Linked DNA regions of Homo sapiens: region 1 is linked to region 2. Evidence: promoter capture Hi-C in human tissues and cell types (Jung and others, 2019). All regions are on one chromosome and are shown on one strand. Each heading gives the region's core, a stretch centred on a gene start or on the middle of the fragment in contact. The rest is flanking DNA. Distances are from core to core; before and after follow the strand shown. Region 1 overlaps PSMD1 (proteasome 26S subunit, non-ATPase 1). Region 2 holds the start of NMUR1 (neuromedin U receptor 1).

What was found. The method cuts DNA at HindIII sites, captures the fragments that hold promoters and counts their contacts. A contact is called where the count stands out against the background at its distance.
Region 1: a fragment that was not itself captured here is called in contact with the fragment with the promoter of NMUR1 in region 2 in 1 of the 25 tissues and cell types used here (pancreas).

The regions. Positions count from the first base shown.
Region 1 is chr2:231,128,330-231,133,831 of GRCh38, reverse strand. The region is part of intron 16 of PSMD1 (proteasome 26S subunit, non-ATPase 1); the gene reads right to left. It also overlaps the pseudogene RNU1-93P. Among named protein-coding and RNA genes, the nearest start is that of HTR2B, 6.0 kb to the right of the region's middle. The HindIII fragment of the contact is 4,723 bases long and covers 894-5,502 here.
Region 2 is chr2:231,527,804-231,533,152 of GRCh38, reverse strand. NMUR1 (neuromedin U receptor 1) reads left to right here and starts at 2,708. Exons shown (of 3, transcript NM_006056.5): 1 at 2,708-2,794; 2 at 4,136-5,030. The coding sequence starts at 2,792. LOC105376787 (a long non-coding RNA gene) reads right to left here and starts at 983. Exons shown (of 4, transcript XR_001739928.2): 1 at 314-983. RefSeq lists enhancers at 1,022-1,756, 4,246-4,772, 4,773-5,300 and a silencer at 2,451-2,880. The HindIII fragment of the contact is 18,375 bases long and covers 1-5,349 here.

The sequences.
Region 1 (5,502 bases), core at 2,006-4,505, 400 kb after region 2:
AAATACTATTTCTTTATGAATATTTTGTGCAACCTCAACATTAAATCACTAATAAATCAAGATGCTTTCAAGAATATGGTGTCTTTCTTTTCCCCCTCTAATCCATCTTTACTAAAGGAGGAAAAACAGCAATATACATAGATAGGCAGAAACACTATTCTAAATGGGGCTATCACAGAGGGAATTCTTCCCCCCTGACCCCAGGGAACTACCTGAAAGCAGTCCCCCATCCCCCAATACCATAAATTATGCAATCAAATTTTCCACATTTAGACACATCAAGGGGTCAGCTCATCCAAAGTGCAATGGACAAACTGTGCCCTGGGAAAACCACCTTTGTGGCCATGTGCCTATAATGCTAGGTAAGAATTCAGAGGGAATTTTTCAGGCTTTAAGCCTCAGGATAGTCCCTTAGCAGAATTATGAATTTATAATTCTCATTAGGTAAGTGCCACAGTGTTAGAGGATTAACTCAATACACAGCAATTAAGAATATATCTGCCCCCGTTGCTTGAGTCCAGGATTTCGTGACTAGCCTGGCTAACATGGTGAAACCCCGTCTCTACAAAAACTACAAAAATTAGCCGGGTGTGGTGGCGCGCATCTGTGGTCTCAGCTACTCAGGAGGCTGGGCGACAGAGTGAGACACTGTCTCAAAAAAAGAATATATCTGTCTCTATTTAATTCCCTTGTACTCTCTAACAACAGATTCCAAATAATCTGAGTAGTAATCTGAAATTCTAAGTGCCTATTGGAAATCTTTAACCAAGTATACCACAAACCTCAATCAACATTTAAAAACCCACAAAGAAAGGAATAAAAAAGGGCATCCCTCTCCAAGTTGCTTCTCTTCCCACCATGACAATTCATTGACATACCTAGGAAACTCGTATCTTTAATCATTCTGTTCCCTCACTCTCCACATATAATCTGCCGCCAAGTCAAGAGAACCCCTTAAATCTTACTTCTGTTTCCAATTGCCTTGTTTCAGTTCCTATCACCTCTCACTGGAAATAACATAGTGATTCCTTAAAGGATCTCTTTTCTTGACCTCTCTTCCATTTGTTGTGGTAGACAGAACAGAGGCTTAGAATCAGAAAGACCTGGATTCCAATTCTAGTGCTGCCATTTATTAGCAGGGTGACAATCACTAAATTTCTCTGAGCCTTAATTGCCTTATCCATAAAACAATACCTGCTCCTCCTTATGTATGCTGGGGAGAGTCGGTGGAGTGGTAGAGGAAAATACCATACTACCATCACTGAAATCTAGATGCATAACCAGAAACTGGCTTTGGATCAGAACCAGAACTTTGGCTACTAACATTTGATGTCCAAAGGTTTATCAAAATATAAAACAAGCTGAATATTAAACCTAGAAAGCTGGTTATATTTAGGGTTCAGACCTCCAGAATTTCGTCATCAACTTGTTAGGGAACTAATGGCATGCAGGATACTTATCAAGTTACCCCTTGGCTGCAAGGGCAGGATATTCCAGGGAAAACTGACTCACAGGAAAGAGCTTATCCTAAAATCTGTCAACATTTCATTTATTTTGTCATTTTTACTTGTTATAAAAGAGTAAATAAAATATAACATATATACTATTCTTAAACCAACCACAAAACTCAAGTTCTTTTCTTTAGTAGAAAAGTTTTCTGAAAGGGGATAGAAGTTAGACTTAAGTTTTGCTTCCCAAAAGGCACTAACAATTCCATGAGGTTTAGAAAAAATTTTGCCTGAGAACATAAATACCAGGAGCCTAATGCAGAACTTTACCTAGTTAATTGCAATAAAGACTGAAATAGGCTGTGAAGGCTATAAACTCAAAAGCATATAAAAAACCTGACAGTGTCTCAATCTAACAACAGTTCCAACTCTGACACATTCTTTAGAAAAAACAAGTGTTAAGACAAGAAATGAGAAATTCTTTATTAAATTAGTTTAGACATTCAATCTTTTCAAGAGTACAGTAAAACCATAATATTCTTATATGTTTATTTCAATGTTTCAGCAGGCAACTCTAAAAGGGCAAAAAAACTTTCTTTTTTTTTTTTTTTTTTTTTTTTTTGAGACGGAGTCTCGCTCTGTCGCCCAGGCTGGAGTGCAGTGGCGGGACCTCGGCTCACTGCAAGCTCCGCCTCCCGGGTTCACGCCATTCTCCTGCCTCAGCCTCCCAAGTAGCTGGGACTACAGGCGCCCGCCACTACGCCCGGCTAATTTTTTGTATTTTTAGTAGAGACGGGGTTTCACCGTTTTAGCCGGGATGGTCTCGATCTCCTGACCTCGTGATCCGCCCGCCTCGGCCTCCCAAAGTGCTGGGATTACAGGCGTGAGCCACCGCGCCCGGCAAGGGCAAAAAAACTTTCTAAGCAATGATTGGAATGCAAACATTCACTGAAAGCAAAACTCCTGCACATTAATCTTTATATATACACACAGAGATATATGATATAAACTTTTAAAGGAACAGTTAATAAATGATAAAATTATATCACCATTTTGTAACATATAATGAATAGATCGCAGCATGATTATCAACGACTGCTAACATCATGAAAATGGAAATAACTGTGTGTACCGCCAGCCCCACCACCCTAAAAAAAATGTGAATGTGATCAAGCTTGTAGATTCAACTGTCAATTTACAGGAAATGTGAAGGACCAAACAACACATTAAACTACATGTAAAGATGCACTCAGCAAAATTCATACCATGGGAAACAAAACAGAGATAACTGGTTTCTTCAACAAATAAACTGCAAGGAGGAAGAAAACAAAGAAAAAGAGGGCAAGGCAAGAGATGAAGAGAGAACCTACAGGTTAAAAGAAAATACATTAAATCATTAGTAACAATCCACTAGGCTTTCTTTCAGTTATTTTCAATAATTCTGACACTCCCTAAATCTTTCTTCAGTATAAACATTTGCCTTCTAGATAACATCACGAAATAATTCCTCCAGTTTCTTATAATACCTTGGATCAGCATTTATAACAAAGTATTTAAATGACTAATCCTTAATCAGCAATAAAGCTTATTTCTATGTCTCCATAAACATATTTAGAAAAACTGGCCAAGCACAGTAACTCATGCCTGTAATCCCAGCATTCTGGGAAGTCGAGGCAGGAGGACTGATTGCATGAACCCTGGAGTTCAAGACCAGCCTTGGCATTCCCGCGAAACCCCATCTCTACAAAAAATACAAAAATTAGCCGGGGATGGAGGTGCATGCCTGTAGTCTCAGCTACTTGGGAGGATCACTTGAGCCCAGGAAGTCAAGTCTGCAGTGAGCTGAGATCACACCACTGCACTACAGCCTGGGCAACAGAGTGATGCCTTGTCTCAAAAAACAAAACAAAACAAAACAACGTATTTAGAAAACTAAATGTTGAGAAATGGTCAAGTCACAGGAAAAACACTGGACTTTATTTTAGGGAAGGGCAGTGGAGAGGAAAGAAATCAATACTTGGTAGACAATTTTATTAGCATAGAATGTGTTACCTATAACTTAGCTCTTTCACATGTTTTGATATGTTATTTAAAAGTATATTTACAGAAAAAAGTATATTTACTTAGACAATTATAAATTTGCCAGCTGCATGTGTACTCAACGACAGAGCTACATGTTGTGGGAATCTGAGGAACTTTTCTTGTTCTCCTTTATTTTATTCTTTGGCTAGTTCATACAACTTGTAATAATAATAAAAGAAACAACAGTGCCATTGGCCGGGTGTGGTGGCTCACCTGAGGTCAGGAGTTTGAGACCAGCCTGGCCAACACAGTGAAGCCCGTCTCTACTAAAAATATAAAAATTAGCTGGGCGTGCTGGTGGGCGCCTGTAATCCCAGCTGCTTGGGAGGCTGAGGCAGGAGAACTGTTTAAACCCGGGAGACAGAGGTTGCAGTGAGCTGACACAGTGCCACTGCACTCCAGCCTGGGTGACAGAGTGAGACTCCGTCTCGAAAACAAACAAACAGTGCCATTACAGGTAAAAAACAAAAAAGTAGGGGAAATATATTATGCTTTTTTGAATTTTGTGGCATAAAACATTTTCAGGGAAAAAGCTGAGAAAGAAAACAATTTTCTTTCCCAAACATACTTTTGTTCTTCGTACCTCCATATTCTAAGCTACTGCTATTTGTAGCTTTTAACTCTTATCAGTTTAGTATATAGTGAATACATATAACTTACCACAAGGAAAAGCAAAAAACAAAACCACACAGACTGTGCCATAAATGTTACAAATTCAGTGAAAGAGAATTTATTTGTTGTCATCTTCCTGGACTTCAGAAAACTAAAAATTAGTATACTTTTAGGCAAGCTTTTGGTACATTTCCAAAAAGACTAATACTTTTCAGGTGCTGCTAAAATGGGCGAGGGAGGGAATTTTAAAGATGTAAGAAGAGTCACAAGCCTTATACAAAGAAATTGCTGTGTCACCATAATAAATAGAGCTCTTAAAAATCTCAGATTGCATTCCTGGACCTACAGAAATCTGTAATATTCAAAGTTGCAGCATTATTAGCACACTTGTTTTCATTTCTAATCAGCAAACTAAGAAAAGTCTTGCAGTATGAGTGAGCTGCCATCAACTTACTGCTATTCATTGAGAACTGTATTGATATTTCTTTGATTTTTATAGTAATCAACATAAATGTACTTTGATTCTCAAAAAGTTTTAATCACTTCTGATATTTAAACAAGTATTCTAATGATAAAAGTCTATTTCTAATAGCTGATTACTGTGATTACTGAGGACATGCAGAGTTGAGCATATCTACTCCAAAAGATATTTGGGTTATGATCATCAACTATAATTCCAGGTATAGCAGTCTTTTGATTAAAGGACAACACCATTTTATGACATCAGGTTGTACTCTAGAGTTTCGATGACAAAAAAAAATCTTATTCTTTTGTTCTGGCAATAACCTGGCAAAAATTGTCTAGATCAACTTTTACACAGGAATCCAGTAAAAAACTTAACCTGGGGAGGGCTTAAAGAAGAAGGTGCTGTATTGTGGTAAGACAGCACTGTGGCATCTTAAACTGTCTGCCTACCACACCCCCACTCCTAGACTAGCTGTGACAGTAGAGATGGCAGCCTATCACACTCCTGGTATAGGCTGTTAATGCCAGAGGAAGCAACACAGACTTCATATACATATGAGATGGGATCAAGAACCTAAGTAGAAGTCAATTGTGGAAAGGAATGATAACATGATCCCAAAGAAGGATAGGATGGATGAAAAGAAAGACATTTTGAGAAGACAGTGAAGGAAGCTTGTTTTTGATTTGTCAAAGTCTTTCGTTAAAATAACAGGCAGTCAGAAGAGAATGAAGGAGTCTAACGAGAACAGATTAAGTTTGAAATAGCTATTCTTATAGTTTCAGCTCTTTCACTGATCTTGTCAAAGAGAATGAACATGAGAGGAATGAATAAAAAGAAAGCTGAGAAATATTTGAACTCCACTGTAGGTCCTGTTGAAGTGAGCTAGTCTTAGTT
Region 2 (5,349 bases), core at 1,459-3,958:
GTTCTCCATGTTTGCCCAATGAAGCCTAGTGATGGGGGTCCTGGGTGATCCCCATTGCCCAGGCTGCAGAACAGTGCCTCCCTCCTGTCCAGAGCTACAGTGTCCCCAAGCTCATCTCATCCTCCCTGCCTCCCCTCTGTAGGCAGTAAGTGGGGTGGGGTTGGGGCGTTTCTGGGGGAACCATGGGCTTGCCAGGAGCTGCGGGTCAGCCCAAGGCTGAGAAGGTTCTGGTTTAAGCCTGGCCTGAGTTTAAGCAGCCCCTCTTGGCTCTCAGGGACTCAGCAGGATGAGGAGGGGATACGGAGCTACTCACATGCCTCTGGCCCCATGAGTCCTGCACACGCCTGGGACTTGGGTGGTATCTCAGCAGCTCCTGGAGGTCCCAGTGGCCCTCCCTGAATGCATTTGCTGTTGTGCAGAGTTGGGTCCTTGGCCCCCTCATCTGGGCAGACGCCCACCAGCCAAGCTTAGATGGATGTGTACACCCAGAAAACTGGGGGGTGCCACCTCAGGACGGAGCAGGAGCAGCAGGATGTCATACGTTTCTGATGGGACACTACCGTGGTGGCCTTGAGCTCAGGCCCGGAGGCCAGGGCCCCTAGGGCCCTCTGCACAGTGCGGAAGTGAGGGCCACAGCCATTGTGGCCACTGAGCCTCTCCTTTTTGGGGGCTGCTCTTTAGCCTTTGATGGCTGCTAATGTTATGTGAATGATGCAACCCGCTGTAGGAATTCCTGACTGGCAAGAGTCATTCTGCCTCTGCAAGGCTAGGTGGGTCCTTCCCCATCCCCTCCAGGGCTGTGTGAACCAAAGGGTCCACGGGGACTTTCGGACTGCTCAGAGTCTGTGCAGAGTGGTATGTGTGTGCGCGTGTGTGTGGTGTGGTATGTGCAGAGTGATGTGTGCATGCATGTGTGTGTATGTGTGTGTACATGCATGTGCGTGTGTGTGTGTGTTCCAGTGAAGGGCTGGGGTCCAAATGCTCCTCACTTGCTAAGAGCAGCCTGTGATGCCACAGTGGTCTCTGATGCTGAGTGATGTCATCCCTCCTTGCCCGTCTGTTGTGCTGGCAGCCCTGTTACTGAGGATTTCTCCTGGACTAGCTCATCAGGGGCTGAGTAGTTAATTCCCAGGGCACCACAGAATCCTTTCTCCCAAGGCCCTGAGGACCACGTGCCCCTGCACTTCCCACAACCGTCCCCTGCCTGGGACTCTGTTTACATGTGGAGTTCCTGGGAAGGCCGGCCTGGTGCAGGCTCCTTGAGGGCCTAACTCCCATCCCCAAGCCCAGACAGTGACTTATGGAATTGGGGGGCAGTGGGGAGGAGGAGGGTGCAGGAAAGCGGGGGGAAGGAGGAGCCTCCAGTTGCCACTAAATGGTGACAATCCCACCCCACATTTCTTGAGTGTTGGCCATGTGCCAGCCCCTGTGCTGAATCTTGACGCTCAGTGTCTCATGTCACCTTCACAATAGTGGCGATGGTGGTTAGCCCATTCTACAGGAAGGGGAACTGAGGCACACAGAGCTTCTGAGCTCACGGTGGCCTCTCGGGGTCCTGTGGCTTTGTAACCTCTCCTGGTGCTCCTCAGTGTGATTCTGGGGCATGGGGCTCTCCAGAGGGCGTTTGTCAAACATGAGGATTTCTGGGCCTTGCCCAGGCTAAGGAGACAAAACTCTGGGCAAAGGCCCCGGAACCAGCATTTTACTCTGTGTGATCCGTCATTTCTAGGGTCCCTAGAAGTTTCTGATGAAACAGCTTCCAGCTAAGGAGCTGATTGCAGGACTAGGGAGTGGGAGCAGGTGAGGCACTGGGATTTGCATGTGGGCAGTGTGGGGGAGCAGGAGGCTGTGGCTGGGCATTCTTAACCCTTCCCTAAATTCCCTCCATCCTTGTCTATACCCCCACCCTTGGTACAGTGATGGGGGCAGAAGAACATTTGAACGGATAAGGGGGACAGTATTTGGGGCTGAGGACAATGGTGAGGAGAGGGTGGCCCAGGGAGGCAGGTGAGGAGTGGGGAGGTCCACCCCCAGGCTAGACTTTGGTGTGCTCTTTTTCAGAAGGCAGTGGGGGGGCCCCAAGGAAGGGTTTCGAGGGGGTGATGGTCGTTGGTGGCTGTGGGAGGATGGACTGGAGGGAGAATAGGGGGCTCTTGCCCAGTCCTGCAGGGCCGAGCGCCTGGACTCAGGGACTGGAGGCCCCGAAGGGAGCAGCGGGTGAGAGGGGCTGCGGAGGCTGCAATCATGGGCCTTGGGACAGAAGAAGAGGCCTGGAGCCTGGGAGGATGAACCGCACCGGGGCATGTCGACTTCAAGGGGCTGGTGGGCCGTCCCTGTCCTTGGAGGTGGGTCTGAATGGGGGGCAGGAGGAGCTGGAGGCCGCAGGGACACCGTGACGGCGTTAAGCTAAACTCAGCACGCTGGAGGGCGGGAATCACATGTGAGCCCCAGGTCTCTCGGGCTCCTCCTCTGCGGCTCTCTGAGGCTCAGTTTTCTCATCTGTAAAACGGGTTGTTGTGAGGGTTCCGTCAGATAACGCTGCTTGTGGAGGTGTCGCCTCCACGCTGCTTGTGGAGGTGTCGCCTCCAACGGCCGCGTCCTCCGCCAGTGCGGGAGGGGGCGCCGCCCGGGCTGCGGGGACTGCACTGCCCCCTGGCGGCGTTCCCGGCCGGACAGGCGGGGCGTCGGGGCGCGGGCTGGGGCCGCTGTCAGTCAGTCCACTGGCTCCCGCGCCGCGTCTGTGTCCGTCGCTCGGAGGGTGGAAGCCGGGGTCTCGCGGGCCGCGGGCCGCATGGTAGGTGCGCAGGCGCCGGCGTGGGCTAGGGCGCGGCAGCTGGGCCGGGGCTCGGTGCGGGCAGGGTCGTCCTAGGGCGGGAAGGGTCCGAGGGCTCCGTCGGGGTGCCCCCCGTCCCCGCCACCGGGGAGCCTCGCAACTTCTCGGGTCATTTGTGTCTTCCGGCCAGGGGCGCCGGGGGGCTGCGGGCTTGCGACCCTTCCTCGAGGACCAGGGCGCCTCCCTTGAACCCGGGCTGGCGCCTGCGCGTTCCCAACTGGTTCCCGAGGCTCCCGCGCTGCTGTGCAGCGGGGGTGAGGGCGGGCGGGAGGAAGGGTGTGGGGCTCAATAGAGGAGAGGGAACCCCAGAACTGGCAGTGCCAAGGGCGTCAAATATGGAGACTGAACAGTTCAGGTGACAGAAAACAGAAAAAAGAATCAACTTGTGGATGAAGCATTTGTAGTGTGTAGCCTTGACACTCCCTCACTTGACTCTCATAGTGACTGGGTCCCCAGAGCAAGGGGGTGATCCCCGTGCCCTTCCGTATGCCAGGCAGGCCCTGTGTTAATGTCTTTAATGGATTAAACTCCCTGGATCCTCCTAATAGGGAAACAGCCTCAGAGAGGTTACCTCGCTAAAGGTCACACAGCCTGGAACTGGGGAGGCTGGATTCGAATCCAGGCAGTTGCTTCCTGAGCGCTTGCTCTTGAAGACCCTGCAATACCAGGCATTGTGCCCATTTTACAGATGCCCAAACGAGTGCCTCATCTAGCATCATTGCTTGAAAGAGGAGACACCCAAGATCTGTCATTTACTCAAAGGTTCCAATAGATCATGAAATTTAAAATCAAAACCCCACGTGTTTTTTTTTTTTTAAATGTAGATTTTTACTTTTTCGTTGTTTGCTTTTTGTTTTTTTGAGACAAGGTCTTTCTCTGTTGCCCAGGCTGGAGTCCGGTGGCACAATCTCCGCTCACTGCAACCTCTGTCTCCTGGGTTCAAACAATTCTCCCGCCTCAGCCTCCCAAGTAGCTGGAATTACAGGCGTGTGCTACCACGCCCGGCTACTTTTTGTATTGTTAGTAGAGACGGGGTTTCACCATATTGGCCAGGCTGGTCTTGAACTCCTGATCTCAAGTGATCCGCCTGCCTCGACCAAAGTGTTGGGATTACAGGTGTGAGCCACTGCACCAAGCTTATTTTTACATCTCTGACTTGTGGATGGAAGAGTTTTTTCTTTCTCAGTGGTGCCTAAAATAATGGTCATCATAGCGCTAATGTCACCTTTGGCTTGATGAGTGAGGACAGAGCCAGCATTCCCTGAATGATCTTTCTGGGCATCTCTCCCCTCTGTTCCACAGACTCCTCTCTGCCTCAATTGCTCTGTCCTCCCTGGAGACCTGTACCCAGGGGGTGCAAGGAACCCCATGGCTTGCAATGGCAGTGCGGCCAGGGGGCACTTTGACCCTGAGGACTTGAACCTGACTGACGAGGCACTGAGACTCAAGTACCTGGGGCCCCAGCAGACAGAGCTGTTCATGCCCATCTGTGCCACATACCTGCTGATCTTCGTGGTGGGCGCTGTGGGCAATGGGCTGACCTGTCTGGTCATCCTGCGCCACAAGGCCATGCGCACGCCTACCAACTACTACCTCTTCAGCCTGGCCGTGTCGGACCTGCTGGTGCTGCTGGTGGGCCTGCCCCTGGAGCTCTATGAGATGTGGCACAACTACCCCTTCCTGCTGGGCGTTGGTGGCTGCTATTTCCGCACGCTACTGTTTGAGATGGTCTGCCTGGCCTCAGTGCTCAACGTCACTGCCCTGAGCGTGGAACGCTATGTGGCCGTGGTGCACCCACTCCAGGCCAGGTCCATGGTGACGCGGGCCCATGTGCGCCGAGTGCTTGGGGCCGTCTGGGGTCTTGCCATGCTCTGCTCCCTGCCCAACACCAGCCTGCACGGCATCCGGCAGCTGCACGTGCCCTGCCGGGGCCCAGTGCCAGACTCAGCTGTTTGCATGCTGGTCCGCCCACGGGCCCTCTACAACATGGTAGTGCAGACCACCGCGCTGCTCTTCTTCTGCCTGCCCATGGCCATCATGAGCGTGCTCTACCTGCTCATTGGGCTGCGACTGCGGCGGGAGAGGCTGCTGCTCATGCAGGAGGCCAAGGGCAGGGGCTCTGCAGCAGCCAGGTCCAGATACACCTGCAGGCTCCAGCAGCACGATCGGGGCCGGAGACAAGTGACCAAGATGCTGTGTAAGTGTCACGGCTGGGAAGAGGGGCTGAGCCAGGCACTGGGTATGAGTTTGGGGCTCCTGGGGCCTGGGAGAAGGGGCTGAGTATCTGGGTTTATGGGGGACGAGGAACTCCTCTAGTCTCGTGTGTGTGTGTGTGTGTGTGTGTGTCTGAGTTGCACTCCTGTGTACTCTTTTAGATTACCCTACTAGAATCTTACACCAAAAATACCTGTTAATGGCTAACGGTAAGATTGTGTAATTTGTGGAGTCCAGTGCAACATGAAAATTCAGGGTCCCTTTTTCAAAAATGAATAAGAATGTCAAGACAGCAACAACAG